Linked DNA regions of Homo sapiens: all the other regions are linked to region 2. Evidence: promoter capture Hi-C in 16 types of primary human blood cells and fetal thymus (Javierre and others, 2016). All regions are on one chromosome and are shown on one strand. The core of a region is centred on a gene start or on the middle of the fragment in contact, and the rest is flanking DNA. Distances in the headings are between cores, read along the strand shown. Region 1 overlaps ANPEP (alanyl aminopeptidase, membrane). Region 2 holds the start of ZNF710 (zinc finger protein 710). Region 3 holds the start of ANPEP (alanyl aminopeptidase, membrane).

Evidence for each region. The method cuts DNA at HindIII sites, captures the fragments that hold promoters and counts their contacts. A CHiCAGO score of 5 or more calls a contact.
Region 1: a contact is called between a fragment that was not itself captured here and the fragment with the promoter of ZNF710 in region 2, in 1 of 17 cell types (neutrophils). The highest score is 5.6, in neutrophils.
Region 3: a contact is called between the fragment with the promoter of ANPEP here and the fragment with the promoter of ZNF710 in region 2, in 3 of 17 cell types (neutrophils, monocytes and M1 macrophages). The highest score is 12.1, in neutrophils.

What each region holds. Positions count from the first base shown.
Region 1 is chr15:89,790,189-89,792,888 of GRCh38, reverse strand. ANPEP (alanyl aminopeptidase, membrane) reads left to right here. Exons shown (of 21, transcript NM_001150.3): 17 at 327-437; 18 at 562-729; 19 at 1,796-1,936; 20 at 2,348-2,429. Among named protein-coding and RNA genes, the nearest start is that of MESP2, 15 kb to the right of the region's middle. RefSeq lists an enhancer at 102-602. The HindIII fragment of the contact is 1,043 bases long and covers 885-1,927 here.
Region 2 is chr15:90,000,069-90,002,891 of GRCh38, reverse strand. ZNF710 (zinc finger protein 710) reads right to left here and starts at 1,568. Exons shown (of 5, transcript NM_198526.4): 1 at 1,278-1,568. RefSeq lists an enhancer at 1-755 and silencers at 455-954, 1,370-1,538, 1,947-2,116. The HindIII fragment of the contact is 9,552 bases long and covers 1-2,823 here.
Region 3 is chr15:89,813,595-89,816,326 of GRCh38, reverse strand. ANPEP (alanyl aminopeptidase, membrane) reads left to right here and starts at 1,475. Exons shown (of 21, transcript NM_001150.3): 1 at 1,475-1,555. RefSeq lists cis regulatory regions at 1,092-1,094, 1,112-1,141, 1,140-1,143, 1,051-1,179, 1,431-1,436, promoters at 1,051-1,539, 385-1,539 and an enhancer at 1,407-1,906. The HindIII fragment of the contact is 11,363 bases long and covers 1-2,732 here.

The DNA of each region.
Region 1 (2,700 bases), core at 157-2,656, 210 kb after region 2:
TGAGGCTCCATGTGGCCTGAGGGCCCATCGGACCTCTTTATACAAAGACCCAAACTGAAACTCTAGCTCACCCCACTGGCTTGAGGTTATACAGTTTCTAGGTGTTGAAACTGGGGCTGGAGCCTGTTCCTGCCCTTCTGGGTCACAGGGCTGCTTTGGGGACCAAGGAACCTCAGGCCCAAGGCACAAAGCACATACAGCGGGGGTCAGAGGGCCAGTTAGGCCACAGAGCCTTAGGCAGGGTGCCGGCCTGGGGTTGTGTGTCAAGAGGTGAATCTTGGCTGGAGTTCGCCAGGTGTGCTAACCGCGTGTCACCCCTGGGGCAGGTACAGCGAGGTTAATGCCATCAGCACCGCCTGCTCCAACGGAGTTCCAGAGTGTGAGGAGATGGTCTCTGGCCTTTTCAAGCAGTGGATGGAGAACCCCAATAATAACCCGTGAGTGTCTCCCCTGCGCCTCCTCTGCCAGTCTTCATCTGCCCCCAACAGCCCCGTCCTCAGCAGAACCCTGTCCCACCCTCCCCGCTGCTGTTCCACACCTGACCTCCCTACCCCACACCAGGATCCACCCCAACCTGCGGTCCACCGTCTACTGCAACGCTATCGCCCAGGGCGGGGAGGAGGAGTGGGACTTCGCCTGGGAGCAGTTCCGAAATGCCACACTGGTCAATGAGGCTGACAAGCTCCGGGCAGCCCTGGCCTGCAGCAAAGAGTTGTGGATCCTGAACAGGTGAGTCTTGGCGCAGGGTGGGACTGCGAGAGCCCTCTCCCCACCTGGAGAACCAGGCAGGCCTCCACACTCCTCGCCAGATCCTTCACGTGACCCCCACAGACCTGTTGAGGTGGAGGCAGTATTTCCAAAGTAACCGGTGCAGACTGGAAGCTTTAATAAGTGATAGAGACAAGATATGGACTCAGGTCTGGGTCCATGTCCTCTGTTCCTAGCTGCTGTGGCCTCTTAGCCTTTACCTGACAACAACTCGTCTTCCCTTCTGTCAAAGGCTCTGGTGTAGCTGGACCTGGGTCTTTTCAAACATCCAGCTGGGCACCCCCTCAAGCCCTTGGATGAGGGTCCCCACCTCCCACCATGTGCCTCATATGCCATTACCTGGATGCAGTAAAGAAGAGCCACCCTTGGGCAGGGTGTGGTGGCTCATACCTGTAATCCCAGCACTTTGGAAGACTGAGGTGGATGGATCACCTGAGGTCAGGAGTTCGAGACCAGCCTGGCCAACATGGAGAAACCCCGTCTCTACTAAAAATACTAAAAATACAAAAAAAAAAAAAAAATAGGCATGGTGGCACATGCCTGTAATCCCAGCTACCCGGGAGGCTGAGGCAGGAGAATCACTTGAACCTGGCAGGCGAAGGTTACAGTAAGCCCAAATCGCTCCACTGCACTCCAGCCTGGGCGACAGAGTGAGACTCCGTCTCGAAAGAAAAGAAAAGAGAAAAGAAAAGAAAAGAAAAGAAGGGCCACCCTCAGTGTCAAAGACGGGAGTGACCACCCACCTGGTGCCAGGGCTTGGGGCGCTAGGACTCCTTCCTTCATTGATTCATTGTCAAATATTTCTATGTCAGGCATGACACTAGCTTAGCCAGTGACCCTGTGACCCTGCTTAGGTGACTCAGTTTTCCATCTATAGAGGGAAGAAGGACCAAGGGGTCCCTCAGCCCCTGGCAGGCCGAGGGGATGTTGAGAGGATGCAGGCATAGGTGATGTGCGTGGGACAGTCCAAGTTCTCTCCTGAGTCACCTGAATTAGCAGTAGCTGAGACAGCATCTGGCCCTCTTAGGTACCTGAGCTACACCCTGAACCCGGACTTAATCCGGAAGCAGGACGCCACCTCTACCATCATCAGCATTACCAACAACGTCATTGGGCAAGGTCTGGTCTGGGACTTTGTCCAGAGCAACTGGAAGAAGCTTTTTAACGAGTGAGTCTGTGGAATGGGTGTCAGGGACAGCGAGCGCCGAGGCTGGGGCCCCGGGGGGTGGCCTGTGCGGGTAAGACACGCCGGGGGCACTAACCAGAAGTGGACAAAAATCAGCCAAGCCTGGGGGCTAGGGTGGGGCAGGAATGGAAAGACAAGCTGGGGTATGGGCCGTCCCTTTTCCCATTTGGAAGGAAAACGTGGCGTGTGGGCGTATTCTCCAGAAGAGAGGGGAGTGAGGAACTCGGCAGTCAGACCTGTGTTCAAGCTGTGACTCCCCCACATCCTAGTGGGGTCTCCCAGGGCGTGTCATTTCATCTCCTCTATAATCATGGCTCCCTACCCAGTAGGTGTGAGGATGAGCCTCCTTAGTTCCCGGCCTCCCTCACAGTTCACCTCTCTCCCTCCCTGCAGTTATGGTGGTGGCTCGTTCTCCTTCTCCAACCTCATCCAGGCAGTGACACGACGATTCTCCACCGAGTATGAGCTGCAGCAGGTAAGAAGTCATTCCCCAGACCTGGGCTCTGCCTACTTCCTTCCCAGGCCAAAGGGGCACTCCATTCTTCTCCCACGTGGCCCTGAGGGAGCACAGGCTCCACGCCGCCAGGCCTTCCTCATTTACAGAGGAAGCCGAGTAGCCAGACTTTGGAAATGTTGATAATTCAATTTAAAAAATTCATCTTGGGATTTTTGTATAGGCACAAAAGGGAAGAGTGGTATAATGAACCTCCATGTACCCGTTACCCAGGTTCAACAATTATCAACAT
Region 2 (2,823 bases), core at 319-2,818:
AAGAAAAAAGAAAAGGCACCCCGGATACTGCTACGCCTTGCCCTAACCGTCTCGCAAATCCTAGAGATACATGAATGACCCTTTCAGGTTGGTTAAAATCCACACAAGCACCTCCCTGGCCTCTTAAATCTTTCCAAACTACAGCTTAGACTGGAGGGAAGCAGTTGCAGCGCCCATAAAAGTCATCTTAAAAGGCAAGTTGGAAAAAAACCCGATACGCACTAGTTAGCAAGTCCGCGGTGAAGGGGGCGGTGGCCCAAGGGCCGGATCTGCGGGATCTGTGCGCCTAGGGTGGGGAGGCTGGGGCTGCCCCGTCGGTCCCCGAGCCCGCGCGCCCACCTGGTAGCCTGAGGGCCCCGATCTGACGCTGGTGCTCACGCCCCACAGCTCCATCCAATTAGGAAAATGACCGCGAGAAGACGGAGAGAGGGCGACGAGGAGGAAGGGGGGCTGAGCCGCGGGAGGCTCAAGACGGGCCGTAGGGACCCCGCCCGCCACCCCCACCCCCACGCCCCCAGACAGCGAGCGCCGGTCCTGGGTCCCCGGCCCGCGGCGCCCCGACGCTGTCCCGGCGGAGATCCCGCGGCGCCCAGCGTGCGGCGGCCAGTGGCCCTCGGGGACGCCCCCAGCCCCGCCAGCGGCGCGCTCAGCTCTCCCCCACCCCCGGCCGGCTGGGACGCGCAACAACCCCACCCGCTCCGAGAATAAAGTTTGTGGGCAGCCGTAGGGGCGGGGCGGCGAGGGGGTGAAACTTTGAGTCCCGGGCCGGGTGTGGGGGGAGCGCACCCAGCACCGGGACACCCACGTGCGGGCCCGAGAGCCTCCGCCACCGTCGCCTCCCGGGCCTCCCGCGCCGCCGCCGCCGCCGCCGCGACGCTTTCCTTTCATTTTTGCCTCTCTCTCTCTCTCTCTCTCTCTCTCTCTCATTCGCGCGCTCTCCTCCCTCTCGCCCTCTTTCGCTCGCTCCCTCCCTCTCCCTTCCCCCTCCCCCTCCTCTCCCTCCCCCCCACCCCAGACGCCATCTCTCCCTCTTTCCCCGGCTCTCCCTCTCTCCCTCCAGCTCTCCGGCATGAGGGAATGTGGAAGTGAAAGGAAAAGACGACATGTTTGCAGCGCGGCGCGGGCCTGCGCGCGGCCGTCCCCAGGGAGAGGCGGGGGGCGGGTCGGCCGCGGCCGCAGCGACCCACCCCCGCGCCCCCCGCGCCCCCGCCGGCCGGCAGCGCGGGGCTGCGGGGCTGGGGCTGGGGCTGGGGCGGGGGGCCGCGCGGGACACTCACCCTGGGTCCGGGCGCGGCTCCTGCGCTGGGGCCCTCGGCGGGCCGGGCCGGGCCGGGCCGGGGGCTCCTGGCTGCCCACCGCCCGGGCTGCTGCTGTGCGCCCGCCGCCCGCCTCCACGCGCGCCCGCCGCCTGCTCCTGCCGCCCTCCCTCCGGCTCCTCTCTTTCTCTCTCTCCCCCCTCCTCTCGCTCGCTCTCTCGCTCGCGCTCTCTCCCTCCCTGGAAGAAGGGAATGAGGCAGGGCTGACGTGAAGGGATGCAAAACAGCTCCTCCTAAGCCAGCTCGCAGAGGAAGAGAGAGACAGAAAAGCAGCCCTTTTATCTCTCTTTTGTTTTCTCACTTCCTTCCACCCCCAACACCTCCCTCTTGTCAGCCCAAGTTTTCTTTTCTCTTTCTACCGCAGAGGATTTTTCTTCCTTTCTTTCTCTTTCTTTCGGTTCAACTCTCCCACTCGAATTGAAAGCCTGAAGGGTTTTCTTTCTCCTGTTTTTTTCTTCCCTCTTTTCTTCCTTCTTCCTCCTTTCTTATTTCTCTAAAAGGGTTTTGTTTGCTGTGGGAGTTTCGTTTGAAAATCAAGTCACGCCTTTTTTCCTTCTTTTCTTTCTTTCTCTCTCTCTCTTTTTTTTTTCTCCTCTCAGCAGAAAAGGGGAACAAAGATTAACTGAAGCGGGGAAGAGGCAGACCTCGCTTGGAAATGGGGGGCCCGGCCCTGTCCGGTACAAAGGGGGCCCGGGGGCCCTGCGCCCCGCCCCCCCCAAGGGAAGCCAGGGGCGTCCTCTGGAGAGGAGAGCCGGTGCGGGTGTTGGGGCACGGGTGCGGCTCCTGGGTGCCGGTTCCTTCCCAAGTGCGAGCGAGGGCCGCCGAGCCCGCCCCTCCCCAGCCAGAGGTGGCAAGCTGGGTGTGTGTGCTTCACTTATGTATTTTTAAAGTAGGCAGATGGGCCTGGAACAAACATCCCCGCAGAGCACTGAACAGCAAAAGCCTTTAAACAGCTGTTAGCAGAGCCCTGGACGGCCTGACTCGAGGGAGCGGCGCGGGCTCCGAGCGCCAGGGCCCGGGTGGAGAAGGGGCTCAGGGCAGCTGCTGGGATCGGCGGGCTGGCGGGGTCCCCGAGCCCAGGGCCTGGGCCTCGGCCCCGGGGCGCACTGCTGGGGGGCGCCGAGGCGTGGTCGCTGGCAGCGCGGCCGTCAGGTCCCTCTCGGCTCCCTGAGGGGCCGCGGGGTTTGGCACAGCCTCGCCGCCCTCCAGCTCCGGCGCAGGCCGGACACCAGGCCTCCAACCTCCAGAACACCCGCCACTCCGAGCCGTTTCTCGACTGCAACGCAGGGCGGGTCCGGAGCCCTCGGACAGAGCCGGGCAGTGCCGCCAGGAAGGGTCAATTATTCATGGGGCGCCCGGGCGTGCTCCCAAGACCTGCTCTGTCCTCGGGTTCTCCGGAGGAGTGGGGAGAAGACGGGGGAAAGTTCCCAAAGCAAAGTTGGTCACATTTGTCATTTTCCCAAGTAAGTATTGAGCACCTGCTGGATGCCGGGCCCTCGGACTGGGG
Region 3 (2,732 bases), core at 226-2,725, 190 kb after region 2:
CAATCATGGATAAGGAAGAGCTTAAATTTGATTATAAATCTGAAAGTCTGGAAGTCAGCTTGAATATTGTGGTAGACATAATCATATCCTCCTCCTCAAAAGATGCCCTGGTTCTAATGCCCAGAATCTGTGAATATGTTATGCTACCCCACGAAGGGAAATTACAGTTGCAGGTGGAATTCAAGTTGCCAATCCATTGATTTAAAATAGAAAGATTACCCTGGATTATCTGGGTAGGCCCGATGTAATCACAAAGATGCTCACCAGTGGAAGCAAGAGGCAGAACAGTTGGTGTCAGAGTGACAGATTGTGAGAGACTGGTGGGCCACTGCTGGCTTTGAAGATGGATGGGGCCACCAGCCAAGGAATGTGGGCAGCTTCTAGAAGCCAGAAAAGCCAAAGAAACAGGTTCCCTTCCAGCCTCAAGAAAGCTGTATCCCTCAACCCCCTTGCTTTTAGTCCAGCGAGACCCATTTTGGACTTCTGATTTTACAAAACTTGTAAGATAGTAAATTAGTGTTGTTTTATGTTTGTGTTACGGCAGCCACAGGGAACCAATACAAATATTATCTGGTACCGCCCATTAAAGCTGCTCAGAGACAGGGAGCCCCACCCTGGCGGGGCTCCGGTGGCTGCACAACCTCTGCAAGCAGGATCAAGATGAGAGGCGCAGGCCAGGTGTGGTGGCTCACTCCTGTAATCTCAGCACTTTGGGAGGCCAAGGCGGGCGGATCACTTGAGGTCAGGAGTTCGAGACGAGCCTTACATGGTGAAACCCTGTCTCTACTAAAACTCCAAAAATTAACCAGGCGTGGTGGCGTGCACCTGTAGTCCCAGCTACTCGGGAGGCTGAGGCAGGAGAATCGCTTGAACCCAGGAGGAGGAAGTTGCAGTGAGCGGAGAAAGTGCCACTGCACTCCAGCGTGAGCGACAGAGCGAGACTCTGTCTCAAAAACAAATAAAGGAAAAAGAAAAAAATGAGAAGCGCGTGTTCCCGACTCCGGTGCTTTTTCGCAAGGTCGTGCTACTGCGCCTTCTGAACTACGAGTCCCAGGTACCAAGAAAGTTGAATTGCGTGCTGTGGCGGGTCCGTTATCTGCACCACCCGTCTGCACGGGATGCGCTGGCTTCCTGCCCCGGATGCACAAGGCTCCCTGCGGGACACTCAGGGCGAGGCTCTGAGCCCCTCCCCCGCGGCAGATGCCGTCCAGATGTGGCCGGCGGGTCCCGCGGGCTGCGGCGACAGGGACCCCGTCGGGGGCAGCAGGAGCCCTGGTGCATCCCAGGCCCCGGGGGGAAGGCCGGGCCGTCGGAGGAGCGGAGGAGCCCTGGGGGGCTCCCGGGAAGCCGCGGGCGGACGGGGGAGGAGCCCGGGCGGAGCTGCGGGCGGGCGGCCCGCTAGGGGTGAATCGGGTGGAGTAGTGGTCGGGTCCGGTTACTTCCCTTTAAAAAGACGGGAAAGGAGGAGTCCAGTGCTGGAGGGGCAGGGACGGCGGCGGCGCAGCTCGGAACCCGCCAGGGTCCAGGGTCCAGGTTCCAGCGCCCGGCGGCCCAGGCAAGTGGGGCGGGAGGGCGGGGGCTGCGGGCGCGGGTAGGGGTCGTGGGGCAGTTGGGTGCGCGGGAACCGAGGGAGCTGCAGACCCAGCGCTTGGCGCGTGCGGAGCTGGACTTCTGCGGCCGCGACGCCCCTCTTCCCAGATGGGTAAACTGAGGGCCAGGGAAAGCGAAGAATTCTTTTGGCCGAGCTCCCACTACGATCTCGCGGTCAAGTGGGTCCCCAGCGGGCCTCGCAGGGGTCGGAGGGGCTCCCATCTGGGGAGGGGGCCCCAGGGTGGGCGAGGGCGACGGGAGCCTGGGGAGGACGGACGGGGAGGGCGGCGGAGCGGAGCTAAGCTGCGGCGGGTGGACCCGGCTCGGCCGCGGCCACTCTGTCCCTGGTGGGTGGGGCGCGGCCGAAGGCAAAGGGCGAACCCGGCCCGCCTGTGGGGTCTCTGGCCAACACTGGGCTCAGAGGCCCTTTCTTTAACCTTAGATCTCGCTCCTCGGTCTAAAGCCTCCGCCGCAGCTCTCAGTGAAGAGGAAGGGGAACTCTAGGTGCTCAACGCCCGCGTTACAGTCGCGTTCTCCCTCGCTCCTACAACCCGGCCAAGATGCCGGGGCATGGATGGGGACCGAGGTTTGGGGGTTGTGGAGCCTATTCCACGCCCTCCCTGGTGAGCAACTGAGACAGATCCAGGGCCCCATTGCAATCCACTCTTGGTCTGGGAAAAGGTCCCCTAAACAGGGCCAATGGGATCCTTTCCCCAAATGACTCCAGAACGCACCCCCCCCCCCCAGCAGTGCGGTGGGCAGGGACGGCCCAGGTGGGCTATGTCCTGGGGTTTTGTGACTGGATCCCCACTCCTCCCCCACCTCAGCCCCTGGACTGCAACCCACCAGGCCGTGTTCGGGGGTGGTCAGAGCCCTGGTCTCAGCCAGACCTGAGGTCTGATGTGGCTTCATCCCTGAGTCTCTAAACGCCCTGGCCTTACTGGGCCTCAGTTAATTCACCTGTGAAAGGGGAGGCTTGGACCAGAGGGCCCCTCAGGGTATGTGTTTTGTGGAGGGGAGGTGGGCGTGTGGGGTAGGGGTGACCAGGAGGAAGTGGGGACAGCCTCTGTCCCACAGGAAGGCTGGCTAGCCCCAGTGGGTATGGGGGAGCTGGGCAGGGAAGAGGGTGGACTCCCCTCTCC